Regions from separate parts of the Homo sapiens genome. Here region 1 is linked to region 2. The links are contacts of gene promoters, found by promoter capture Hi-C in blood cells and fetal thymus (Javierre and others, 2016). All regions are on one chromosome and are shown on one strand. Each heading gives the region's core, a stretch centred on a gene start or on the middle of the fragment in contact. The rest is flanking DNA. Distances are from core to core; before and after follow the strand shown. Region 1 has its middle 28 kb from the start of TSEN2. Region 2 holds the start of TIMP4 (TIMP metallopeptidase inhibitor 4).

Evidence for each region. The method cuts DNA at HindIII sites, captures the fragments that hold promoters and counts their contacts. A CHiCAGO score of 5 or more calls a contact.
Region 1: a contact is called between a fragment that was not itself captured here and the fragment with the promoter of TIMP4 in region 2, in 6 of 17 cell types (monocytes, M1 macrophages, endothelial precursors and 3 more). The highest score is 7.3, in monocytes.

What each region holds. Positions count from the first base shown.
Region 1 is chr3:12,454,101-12,459,766 of GRCh38, forward strand. No RefSeq gene overlaps it. Among named protein-coding and RNA genes, the nearest start is that of TSEN2, 28 kb to the right of the region's middle. The HindIII fragment of the contact is 3,865 bases long and covers 1,425-5,289 here.
Region 2 is chr3:12,157,067-12,162,735 of GRCh38, forward strand. It overlaps TIMP4 (TIMP metallopeptidase inhibitor 4), which reads right to left and starts at 1,846. Exons shown (of 5, transcript NM_003256.4): 1 at 1,636-1,846; 2 at 319-416. The coding sequence starts at 1,774. SYN2 (synapsin II) reads left to right here. Exons shown (of 13, transcript NM_133625.6): 6 at 4,480-4,542; 7 at 4,946-5,088. The HindIII fragment of the contact is 8,121 bases long and covers 1-5,669 here.

The DNA of each region.
Region 1 (5,666 bases), core at 2,107-4,606, 300 kb after region 2:
AGCTAATTAATGCACTGATGGTTTTTTTTTATCAATTTAGGCTGCTATCCTGAAAGGTGCTCCATATCTAAGTTTCACATGAGCCTGGGAACCCCTATGGGTACAGTCACCATCTTAAGAATCCTTGCATCTGCTTGACCCAGAACCTGGCAGACTCCAGCAGATGGTTCAAGGTCCAGCAACACCCTGGACAGATCCCTGCGTTGCCATTGATCAGATTGGAGAAGAATATAGTTCCATGACCAAGAGCAAGACAGGTCTGGAAGGGAGTCCCACCTCTGCCACTTTCTAGCTGTGTGGCCTTGGACAAAGTGCCTGGCCTCTTTCACCCCAAGTATTCTTTTCTGTAAATAGGAATGATGACCCCTGCTCCCAGAGTTGTTCTGAGAATGAAATGCTGTTCAGGCTCTGAGCACAAAATTACTCATTCATATTGCTCATCATCGTGACCATTGTGTAAAGATTCTGTTTCATATCTGCCTCTCCCCTCTGGCTTCGAAGGCCAGGAGGTTTCAGGAGACCCAGGGGAGAAGGACACAGGAGCAGGACCCCTACTGAGCTTCCGTGATATGCCAGTCCATCTCCACACTAGGGGCTTTGCCTATGTGATTATCCCATTTAACCCTGGTGACAGCCCCCTGCAGGGGAAGTTGTAGTCTCATCATTGTTACAGAGAAATGAACTGAAGCTCAGAGAGATTAAGTAACTCGCCAAAGCCTTGCCAGCTGTGAAGAGGTGGAACTGGGCCTCTTACCCAGGTCTGTGTGAAGAAGCCTGTGCCCCTTCCACCAGCTCCACCACAATCATCCCTGCATCCCAGAGCCTAGCATAGTTGGGACCCAGTAAATGCCTGTTGAATGAGTAATTGTAACCAAGGTTCATGTTGAATGATGCACGAGAGGCTCCCCCCCATCCAGTTATGGGGTTCAGGGCTGTCTGCCTCACAAGGGTAGATACGGGCACTTTCACAAAAGTTTGATGCAAATGCTCACACTGAGAGGAAAAAGATTTTGATGAACAGGCTTTGAAATCTGGTCCCACCCTCCCTACCCAGCCGAACTTATTGCACACTGCAGGCACCTGTGCAGATGGTCCTCAACTCAACCCAGGCTCACTGTCACCTGCGAGACTCTACTTAGACCAGCTACCCACCCCAATGTCCTTCCTTCTTCTGTGTCCAGGAGGGGCTATGAGGGTAGGGAGGGAGCCATTCCTTACTCGCCCTTTCAAAAATGTTCCATTTATTTTTTTCTTTTCCATGTAATTCATCTTATTATAGAAAAAAACTATAGTCAAATAGAGAATGAAATTCTCTGTTAGTTTCAAGTGAATTCATTTCAGATATTCATTTCAAAATGAAAATAAGAAGTCAAGAACCCACTGCAAGCTGGCGACCGAGAGACAAGTGCCGTTAACATCTCTCAAGCTTTTTGTCCAAGTGCATACAGGCATTTACATAATTTGTAACCGAAATGCTGTTTGGAAACCTGCTTCATCCTCTTAAAAATTTTTGTGACAAAAATTATTCCTGTCCATTATATACAAAGTACAGACTTTGGACAACACAGACACAAATGCCACTACTAATATTTGGTGGTGATTTGTTTTTCAATCGACGTCTCTATGCCTTTATAACAGGGTACAAAATTGTTCCACTGAACAGTTGAAGATAAATGTATTTTTCTTCTAGATCAGTTAAGTCAGTTTTCAGAGTGGGGGCAATCTGCAAAGGTGCTGGAGGGGGTCTGCGGTGTTCCTTCTCTCATGGCTACGTCTGCAGTGCTTCCTGGGTGTTCTGTCCCTGAAGGTCAAGCCAGAGAGGGAGGAGGCCCTGACCGAGGTCCCCAGGCCATGGGCCTCCAAGCCGGCAGGTTCATCGGCGGCTCAGCTCCAGACCGCCTCCCAGGCCTCCACCAGTCTCCATGGACACAGCCCCCTGATTTCTATTCTGTCTAGCCCTTGAGCCCCTCTTCCTCCAGAATAGTCAGCTCCACCACCTCTGGGAGCACAGGATTTCAGGGGTATGACATTCTCTGGAGGAAAGTTGATTTTTCTTGGGCCTTGGCCTCTTTCTTGGGTCTCTCGTATGTTCACAAGAACAAGGCAGAAATTAATAGGCCAACGAATTATCCTGCCAAGAGCATACACCTACCCTAAACAAAAAGGCAATTGCAGCTTTTGTCACTGTTTTCTATTCCCCTTCTCAATATTTTCTGTCCTACTTCATTTAAGCTCTTCTCTTCGTCTTTCTTGGTTCACTTCCACGGTCATTCTGGCCTTCTATGGCCTCGCCCTCTTTTGAACTCTTAGGACCTTAGGTTTTCTGGAAGGGAGTAACTGGAGCCACTGGTGCCTGAGCTGGGATCAGGTGGCCTTTGGGCACGTGCCTTGAGCAAGGTGGGCTCAGGGCCTGCATCTGCCTTTGTGGTATCCAGGACAAAGCAGCTGGAGGCTTGGCAGGAATGCATCTCGACTGAGAGTCATGGAGTTGGACAGTGGACATCAGCCCCCCAAACCTTATCTCCAGCAGCACAACACGGAGGTTCCCCTTCTGTGGCTGCAGTGACTGGAAGCCCAAGACTGACAGCCATTTTTCTGGTTAGTGGCAGCAACACCTGTGCATGGTGGCCTGAGCCCAGGCAATACAGAGGTGGTGGGTCTCAGAGTATCTGGTCTTGGATTAAAGGCCACAGCCCCATGGCCCACCTTTAATCAAAGGTGAGGCAGGAGCACTGAGAAGGCCACTCTGTGTGGCCCACCGTCCACCTTCAGCTTCACCCACTTCATCTGGTTTCACTGGAGCATCATTCAAGCTATCCCCAATAGCCCAGGAGGACCCAGAGGGAGGGGCTGCACCTGTCACTGTTTTTGTTTGTGCTCATTGCATATTTATTCACGTTCATGATAAAATAAGTGGTTCCCTGCATTGGCAAGCAAAGCACCCAGACTATCAGTGACTTTTTCACTGCCAGCGCCGTCACTGTGAACTCTGAGGGTGGCTGTAGAGCAGCCTCCAGGCTATTGAACGAGTTTTCCTGACCATCCTGTGGTTCTTCTGTGTCTTTCTTTGCTGGAGATTGCCCCTCTCCTTGGTGTTGGGTTTTAGCAGTACTGCCCATTCCCCAAATTATCATCTGCTCTCTGGTGACTGAGTAATCACCGCATTAACACAAGACATTTATTTATTTCTAAATTCAGCAAGTGCCTAACACATAGTAGGTGTTCAATTCATCATGTTTGCTCTTTCATTCAGTCATGGAGCCTAAGGAAAGGGCCCAGGCCAGGCACAGTGGCTCATGCCTGTCATTGCAGCACTTTGGGAGGCCAAGGCAGGAGGGTTGCTTGAGTCCAGGAGTTCGAGATCAGCCTGGGCAACATAGTGAGATCTCATCTCTACAAAAAAATTTTTAAAATTAGCTGAGTGTGGTGGAACAGGTTTGTGGTCCTAGCTATTTGAAAGGCTGAGGCAGAAGGATTGCATGAGCCCAGGAGTTCAAGGTTACAGTGAGCTATAATTGCACCACTGCACTCCAGCCTGGGCAACAGAGTAAGATCTTGTCTCAAAAAAATAAATACATTGACTGGGCGTGGTGGCTCACACCCGTAATACCAGTACTTTGGGAGGCCAAGGCAGGCAGATCAAGGGAGGCCAACATGGTGAAACGCCATCTCTACTAAAAATACAAAAATTAACTGGGCGTGGTGGTGCATGCCCGTAATCCCAGCTACTTGGGAGGCTAAGGCAGGAGAATTGCTTGAACATGGAAGCGGAGGTTGCAGTGAGCTGAGATTGCGCCACTGCACCCCAGCCTGGGCAACAGAGCGAGACTCCATCTCAAAAAATAAATAAACAAATAAATAAATTTTAAAAAGGAAGGGGCCTAAAGAACACTCTTATTTTTCCTGTTGACTCCAAGTGTAACAGCCATCAGATCAGTCTTCCTAAAGAGCCCTCTGGTTGTGTCATTCCCTTGCTCAAACACCTTCAGTGGCTCCCTATGACCTACATGATAAAGTTAAAATGGCCCATCATTCAAGACCCTCACAATCTGACATCAGCCAGCCTTTCCAGCCTCTGCCCTTCCTACCCATGAGTTCCAGCTACACAGGGCCACAAAGCCTTGTTGAGCTGTCAACAGTGAATTCACCCTTCAATGCCAGATGCTCCCTGACTCCCTCCTTAGTTCTCCCATAGTCCTGTGATTCTGATCCTCATCACAGTCAAACTTAGATTATTGTAGGACTTTGTCCAACCACACCATAGCCTGGGAAGCTCTTGGAATTAGGGGTGTTATTTTACCTCTTGTAATCTCGATCCCCTGTAGTCAGGAGGAGCTTGGTAAGTAGCTACTCATCGAGCAGGCTCTCTAATCATTAGCACAGCCTAGCAAACTAGACAGTCCTTCAGAGTCATATTTACTTCATTGCAAACGCAGAGCTCTTTATAACGTGTCTAAATTATGTCTAATGTATGTGTGCTTAAAAAAAAAGTCACTCTGCTTCCTGGGAGCCACATTACCTAGACCTGATCCCACCTCTGGTCTCTTGTTTCTGATCTCTTGGTCTACCTCAGACTGTTACGTTTTTGGAACTCCTTACTTGGGCATATCACCCCCTTTCTCTGACCTTTAATTTCCTCTAATGTCAAGCAGGCATGATGGGCAGGTCTGACGAAGATAACACATACACAGCAGGTAACATTGGGCTAAGTCCTCTGCCTTCTTCCTGGGTGCGCTGCCCATCTCCATCAAGCTCAACTGCTTCACTGATGGCAGAGAGACGCTGCTGGGGAGGGCAGAAGGGTGGGGCCCTATCATTCTTGGGGATCCAGAAGCATAAAACCAGCTTCCATCCCATCAGGCGCCTCTGGGCCGGGGCGGGAAGGGAGCCAGGCTCCCCTGAGGCTGATGAAATGCGTCTGTTGGGGACCTGTTGGGAAATCCTGAAACTGGGAGGAAGGAACAGCCCTGCGGGGTCGGAGGCTACTTGAGCAAGTCCCCAGCAGTTGCTCCATTCGCCACACGGGGTGATGATGCCCAGGGTGGGGTATTTCACCAGGTTCTTAGAAAGCTGCCTCTGTACACCCATGTCTACTCAGGGCTTTGTTTAATCACTGTCTTTTCCACTTCCAGATTTCTGAGGACAAATAGGGAGAGGGTGATGTGGTGAAATGATCATTATTAGCCAACTTGCCCTGAATGCTTACTGCGTGCCACGCACTGTGCTACGTATGCATCTTACACCTGTGATCTCACACAATCCACACAGCAACCCCCGGGGCAGAGACTAAGCTTCCCACACTTGCCGATGAAGAAACTGAGGCCCAGACAGGTTAAACATTTTGCCCACAGCCACACAGCTTATAAATGGTAAAGCCATGATTGGAACCCCCACTGTGTGATTTGAGGACTCTTAACTCCACCTCAGAACTGCTTCCCATGAGTGGGAGGAAACTGGGCTTTGAAATCAGGTTGCTCTGGGGTGAATCTCAGCAACGCTATGGACCCACCGCTGTCCTCAGCAGGCCCCTTCTCCTCTCTGGCCCTCAGTTTCCCCATCTGTAGAAGAAGTGGTTTAGAATCGGTCACTGGTTCTCAAATTCTGTTCTTTTTTAAAAACTAGAATGTAGGCCAGGTGCAGTGGCTCATGCCTGTAATCCCAGCAGT
Region 2 (5,669 bases), core at 596-3,095:
GTCCCTACTGGGTTATTTTCTCTCTTAAAACAAAACAACAACAACAAAAAACACCTAAACCTTGGTTTATTCCAGTAGGTACCTGTAGTGGCACCATACACCAGCAGCTGTGGGACCAGATGGATGCTGAGGCCCTCCCTGGCAATATCCCTGGGATTCTATGGGCTCTGCCTCCAAATCTCATCCAGTTCCACTTCAGTATCTAGACCCAAGGATTACTGAGCCAGGCCACCTGAAAGCTACCAGCCCTCCCAGAACACAGACTCCACTTTCTCCATCAGCCTTAGGGGCTACACATCCCAGCCTGCCCCCATGTACCTTTATCTGTTTGATTTCATACCGGAGCATTTTTTCAGTGTCAGCAGGGTCTGCACTGGCCGGAACTACCTTCTCACTGGAGATTTTGGCCCGAATCACTGCATAGGAAGAGAAAAGAGGGAACCTTCAGCAGCTGGTGGGGGCAATACACCTGAGGTCTGGATGATCCAGGGTCCATGAAGAAGTCTATAGGGCAGTTCTTGGTTTTGGTGTGGCTGGGTTGTGAGCAACGTGATGTGTGAGAAGGGGGACCTGGAAACACCTCCCCTGCAGTCACTGGAAGTTCCAAACCCCTCAGGCTTATTAGGTCCTATAACCGCTAAGCTGTTTCTGCCTTTTGAACCAGTTAGTCTGGAGAGCTCTAGTTCTCCATAGCCGTTTGTGCAGTGGGGCACAGGGTAGGAGTCAGAGTAGAGAAGGGAGGAGGAGCCCCTTCAGGGCAGTCGGTGTGAAGTTTATCTATTGCTGTGGTCAAGGCCTCTCATCCCGCCTACAGTTGATATTAGTAAATGTTTATTGAATTCATAAATGTTCTGACCCTGCACTGAGGTATTGCATCTCTTGCCATTTGAGCATTAATAACCAAAAACTGTTGATGATGTTCTTCCTCTGTGCCTGGCCTTGCACTAGGCACTAGGCCCATAGATGTGATTAAGACAGGGTCCCCATCCTGCCGAGCTCTTGATCTAGTGGAGTGCACACGTGTAAAGAACAACAGCACAGCATAGTAGGAGCGCTAAGACGGTTAGAGATGCTGAGGCGGCACCAAGGAGCCCGGGAGCCTGCAGAGAAGGGGAGAGACCTAAGTTAGCCCTTGAAGGATGAGTAGGAGTCTGCCAGGAATTTAAGGGTGTGAGGGAGGGCATTCCAGGCAGAGGGAAGAGAAAGGACAGAACGTGTGTGTTGCCATAGGGGCTTGGTGGCAACCTCAGTTATAGGCCTGGACAGACACGGGTAGTTACAATGCAAGCCCTCTCCCCTCCCCTTTCTGTCCCCAGTCTAGTAGTTCAGAATAATCATCAGATAGCTCCGGTGACACCTTGTGTAATGACACTCCATAATTGCAGTATGGCCGGAGTGAGGGAGGTCGCTATGGAAGTCCCTGATGAAATCTTCATTTCCTTATGAATCAGTCAGGTTCTGGGCTTGCAAGGTTGCTATGGCGCCTGGTCCTTCTCCACCCATCAGCCTCAGCAAGAGACAACCGGTAAGAATTTGAGCTCCTCCCTTTTCCTCTGGACTCCTGGTGTACTGCTGGCCAGATACTAATCCCCCACAACCACCCCCTGCTGTGGACCTCGCGGACCTCGGACTCACCAAGTGCCGAGTGGCAGATGTGCTGCTGAGGGTGCGCCGGGGCGCAGCTGCATGCCTCACCCAGCCCCGGGGGCCGCAGCAACGCCAGCAGCCGCAGCAACAGCACCCAGCTTGGCGCGGGCCGAGGGCTCCCAGGCATGACACTGCAGATCCGCGACTGAGCCTGTGAGGTCTGGGGGACTGGACGGCCCCAGCAGGGCTCCTTCCCAAGGCCGTTGTGCCCCTCGCCCCAGGCTTTATGAGGTGGCCCTAAGGGCCAATCCCGCCCCGACGGGCTCCGCCTTCCTTTGGCTCTAGGCCACCCGCGGAGGCAGGACCCGAGGCTCTTCCGACCTGCATACTCAGTAAGATGCAGAGGGAAGCCTGGAAGGAGGCCCTGACCTCTGTTTCCCTGCCTAAGTCATGAAGCGATCTGGAAGCAGAGGGGAAGCACTGGGAGAGGGGATGGTGTCAAGGGCAGAAAGACGGAAAGAGCCACAAAGACAAATGCATGAGGACAGAAAAACTGAGGGCTGTGATTCAGGCAGAAAGAACAAGAGTGAGGAGAGGCACAGACAGAAAGAGTGAGACAGGCAGAGTCCCAGAGAGGCAGACAGAATTACAACAGGCAAAAGAGACAGTGACAGAGAAGGACGGACCCCTTGCTGAGCTGCACGCTGGGAATGAGACGAGCTACTCAGGGCTTCTTTCAGCTGCAGGAAGTGCTTTCAATGCCCTATTTATGAGGCTCCAAAGCAACAGCAAACAGTAATAGAACAGGACAGAGAAAGTTGGGGTGTGTGTGTCTTGGCTCTGTTGCCTGGGGGGTGGGGAGAGATGTCAAAGAAGCAGCCAGTGCTTTAGAAACCCTTTCTCACTCCCAGAGCCTCAGACTCTCCAGATAGCTGGAGACAGCGCTCTTGGTGTACAAAACACAAAGTGTCCCATCACTTAGGGCAAACCTTGGACCTCAAAGCCCTCTCGAGGCCCTAGACTACATTGATTTTTATTGCATGTCCCTTCTCACTGGAGACTCTGTCATGTTCTAGAAGGTGGGACAGCTTAGAAAACAAAGAAGCAGGCTGGGCGTGGTGGCTCACGCCTGTAATCTCAGCACTTTGGGAAGCCAAGGCGGGTTGATCACCTGAGGTCAGGAGTTCGAGATCACCCTAGCCATCATGATGAAACTCCGTCCCTACTAAAAATACAAAAGTTAGCCGGGCGTGGTGGCCTACACCTGTAGTCCCAGGTACTCAGGAGGCTGAGGCAAGAGAATGGCTTGAACCCAGGAGGCGGAGGTTGAAGTGAGCTGAGACTGTGCCACTGCACTCCAGTCTGGGCGACAGAGTGAGACTCCGTCTCAAAAAAAAAAAAAAAAAAAAAAAAGTAAAAGAAAAAACAAAGAAGCAGGGGACTTGGGGGTGACTGTGACCAGAGCCTTGTCTGCTGTTTGGGCACAGTGTTGCAAGCCTCCAAATCCCAAATCTCCATGGGATTATTGCTGTGGGATGTTTCCACATGGTGCTGGACTGGATAGTGGGAGGCTGGGTTCCAATTCTGACTGTCACTGTAGCTTTGTGACTTTTGCCTCTCTGGGCCTCAGTTTTTTCTTCATAAAGTAGAGTTGAACTACGTGATTTCTAAAGCCCTTTGAAGTTCTTCTTCCCATCCTTGGCTGGCCTCAACCAGGAATGCTGAGATCCTCAGGCCAGATACCCCCAGTATCTGTTCAAATCTTAGTTCCCATAGGAGTCTGACTTTTCATCAGGGTCAACATTATTTCCTTCAAAGGATACCTTTTCATTTTGATGGTGTTAGTGATATTTGAAAAGAAGGGAATTGAAAGAGAGCTGAGTCTGACTGAAAGATGAAATGCCCGGGTTAGCATCCAGGCTGGTTCTTCATACAATGTTCAGACCAAGATAGAGGCTGATGTACTATTTGAAGGGAGCTCAGAAAGCATCCCATCTGATCTCTTCATTGGACAGATGTGAAGGCTGAGGCCCAGTGAGATACAGTGACTTGTAGAAAGTCCGTGGCAGAAGAGGACTAGAGTACTCGTCTCCTGACATCTAGCCCAGTGCTCCTTCCACTCCACAATATTACTTCTTACATCACCATTTTGTAGCAGCTTGAAATCTTGCCCTTAGAGGATAATCCTTCTTTTAAGGTTTTGTTGCTCCTCTGTTAAAGTATGGCTACCTCAGTGTAGAGTTCGCTCCCCTAAGGATCTCTCTGCATTTATAAACATACTGAATTCTTCTACCGGCTCTCTTTCAAACCCCAAGCTGGGAAGAAATGGGCCTTCACATGCAAAGCCTTGTTTGGTGGTGAGATTGGGGTATTGGTGAGCAGTGAAGAGTGTGAAAGAGGGAGAAAACAACCAGGATCATTACAGGAAAGCTGGGCCTTTGAAGGTTGTAGGTACCAAGAGGGTACATGCTGACAGGGACATCAAGATGCCAAAGATGTGTTTTTAAAATAAAAATACAGGTTTATTAAAGTACATCTACATATAGTAAAGTTCACTCTTTCAGAGATACTTTCTTTTTTTAATTCTCTTTGTCTGAGGGCCAGTCCTGCCCAGGTTTTGTCTAATGCAGAGAAAATTGACAGTGCATTTTAAAGATGTAGGGTATACCAAATAAGAGTACAGGGTTCTTGTAGCACTGCCACTAATATGCTCTGTGACCCTGGGAACTCACTGTCATTCCATGGGTCTCAGTTTTTTAATCTGTAAAGCAAGTAGATTGGACTAGTTCTTTAAAGAACCCTCCCAAGGGTATTCCCAAGAAAAATATGTGTAGGATTCCACGGAGAGATGGGCACACTCTGACAGTTTATTCATTTCTCTTCTGATTTCAGCTGACACTGCCCACGTTCCCTGTGGTGGTGAAGATTGGCCACGCTCACTCAGGCATGGGCAAGGTGAGGCAGAGAGGCCTGCTGTGCTTCAGGGTTGAACCAAGAAGGGCAGTTTTCAGAGCGCCCATTTGTGAACTGCTATTCTCCCTCTGTCACTGATGAATTCTTTCCAAAGAGAAGATGATTTGCCACCTCTAAAGCCATGAGTGTCACCCAACCAGACCTCTTTCAGTAAGCAGAATGCAAGCCACCTGCTTGGTCCTCTGGGTCCTTTGCAGCAAGTGTGGCCCTTGAGTTCTGGGAAGGGAAGCTAGGGAGAAGGGGCCTCCTGGGGAGATGTGGCACCCAGATTAGTGTCTGGATCGGATACATATTGGTGGGTTTGGAGGCTCAGGGCCCTTGTGACTTCTCAGTGTGTGTATGTGTGTGTCTCCCTTTCCCCCTTTCTGCCCTGCTCTAACATTAGGTCAAAGTGGAAAACCACTACGACTTCCAGGACATTGCCAGCGTGGTGGCTCTCACCCAGACCTATGCCACTGCAGAGCCTTTCATTGACTCCAAGTATGACATCCGGGTCCAGAAGATTGGCAACAACTACAAGGCTTACATGTGAGTAAGAGTGGGGTATGTTTTCTCCTCAGTGATGATGGAAAAGCTGAGCCTCCACATTGCAGCCAACTCTCAGATAACAGAGAGGGTGCCACTTAAGTCAGAGATTTTTTTACCTGGGTTCCTTTTAAGTCAGAGGAGGGGTCTGTGGACTAAGATGAGAAAATATATTAATATTCATTTTCACTTGCCTCTAAGGGAAATTTAGCTTTCTCTTCATTTTGAACAGAGACGACAGACTACATTAGTTACCTGTACATAGGAGTTTGTCACTAAAGGTGATTACTGATTTTCTTAGATCTTAGATCTTATAGTTGAGACACATATCTCTATGGATTATTCTCATTCCTACTTTAAAATAATGGTACTTGTTAGGCTTGCCACTACCTCCTGTTACTTAGAAACACATATTTTACTAATCACAGATTTGTTTAATATTTTTGATAACTCTAATTGGGTAGCTCTGGGATCCCATGTACTCTATCTTATACAGTTACACATCTTATATATTGTGTTCATTGGAAGGAATCCATAGGCTTCCCCAGACTGCCACAGCACAAAGTTAAAAAGTTCCTGGTATA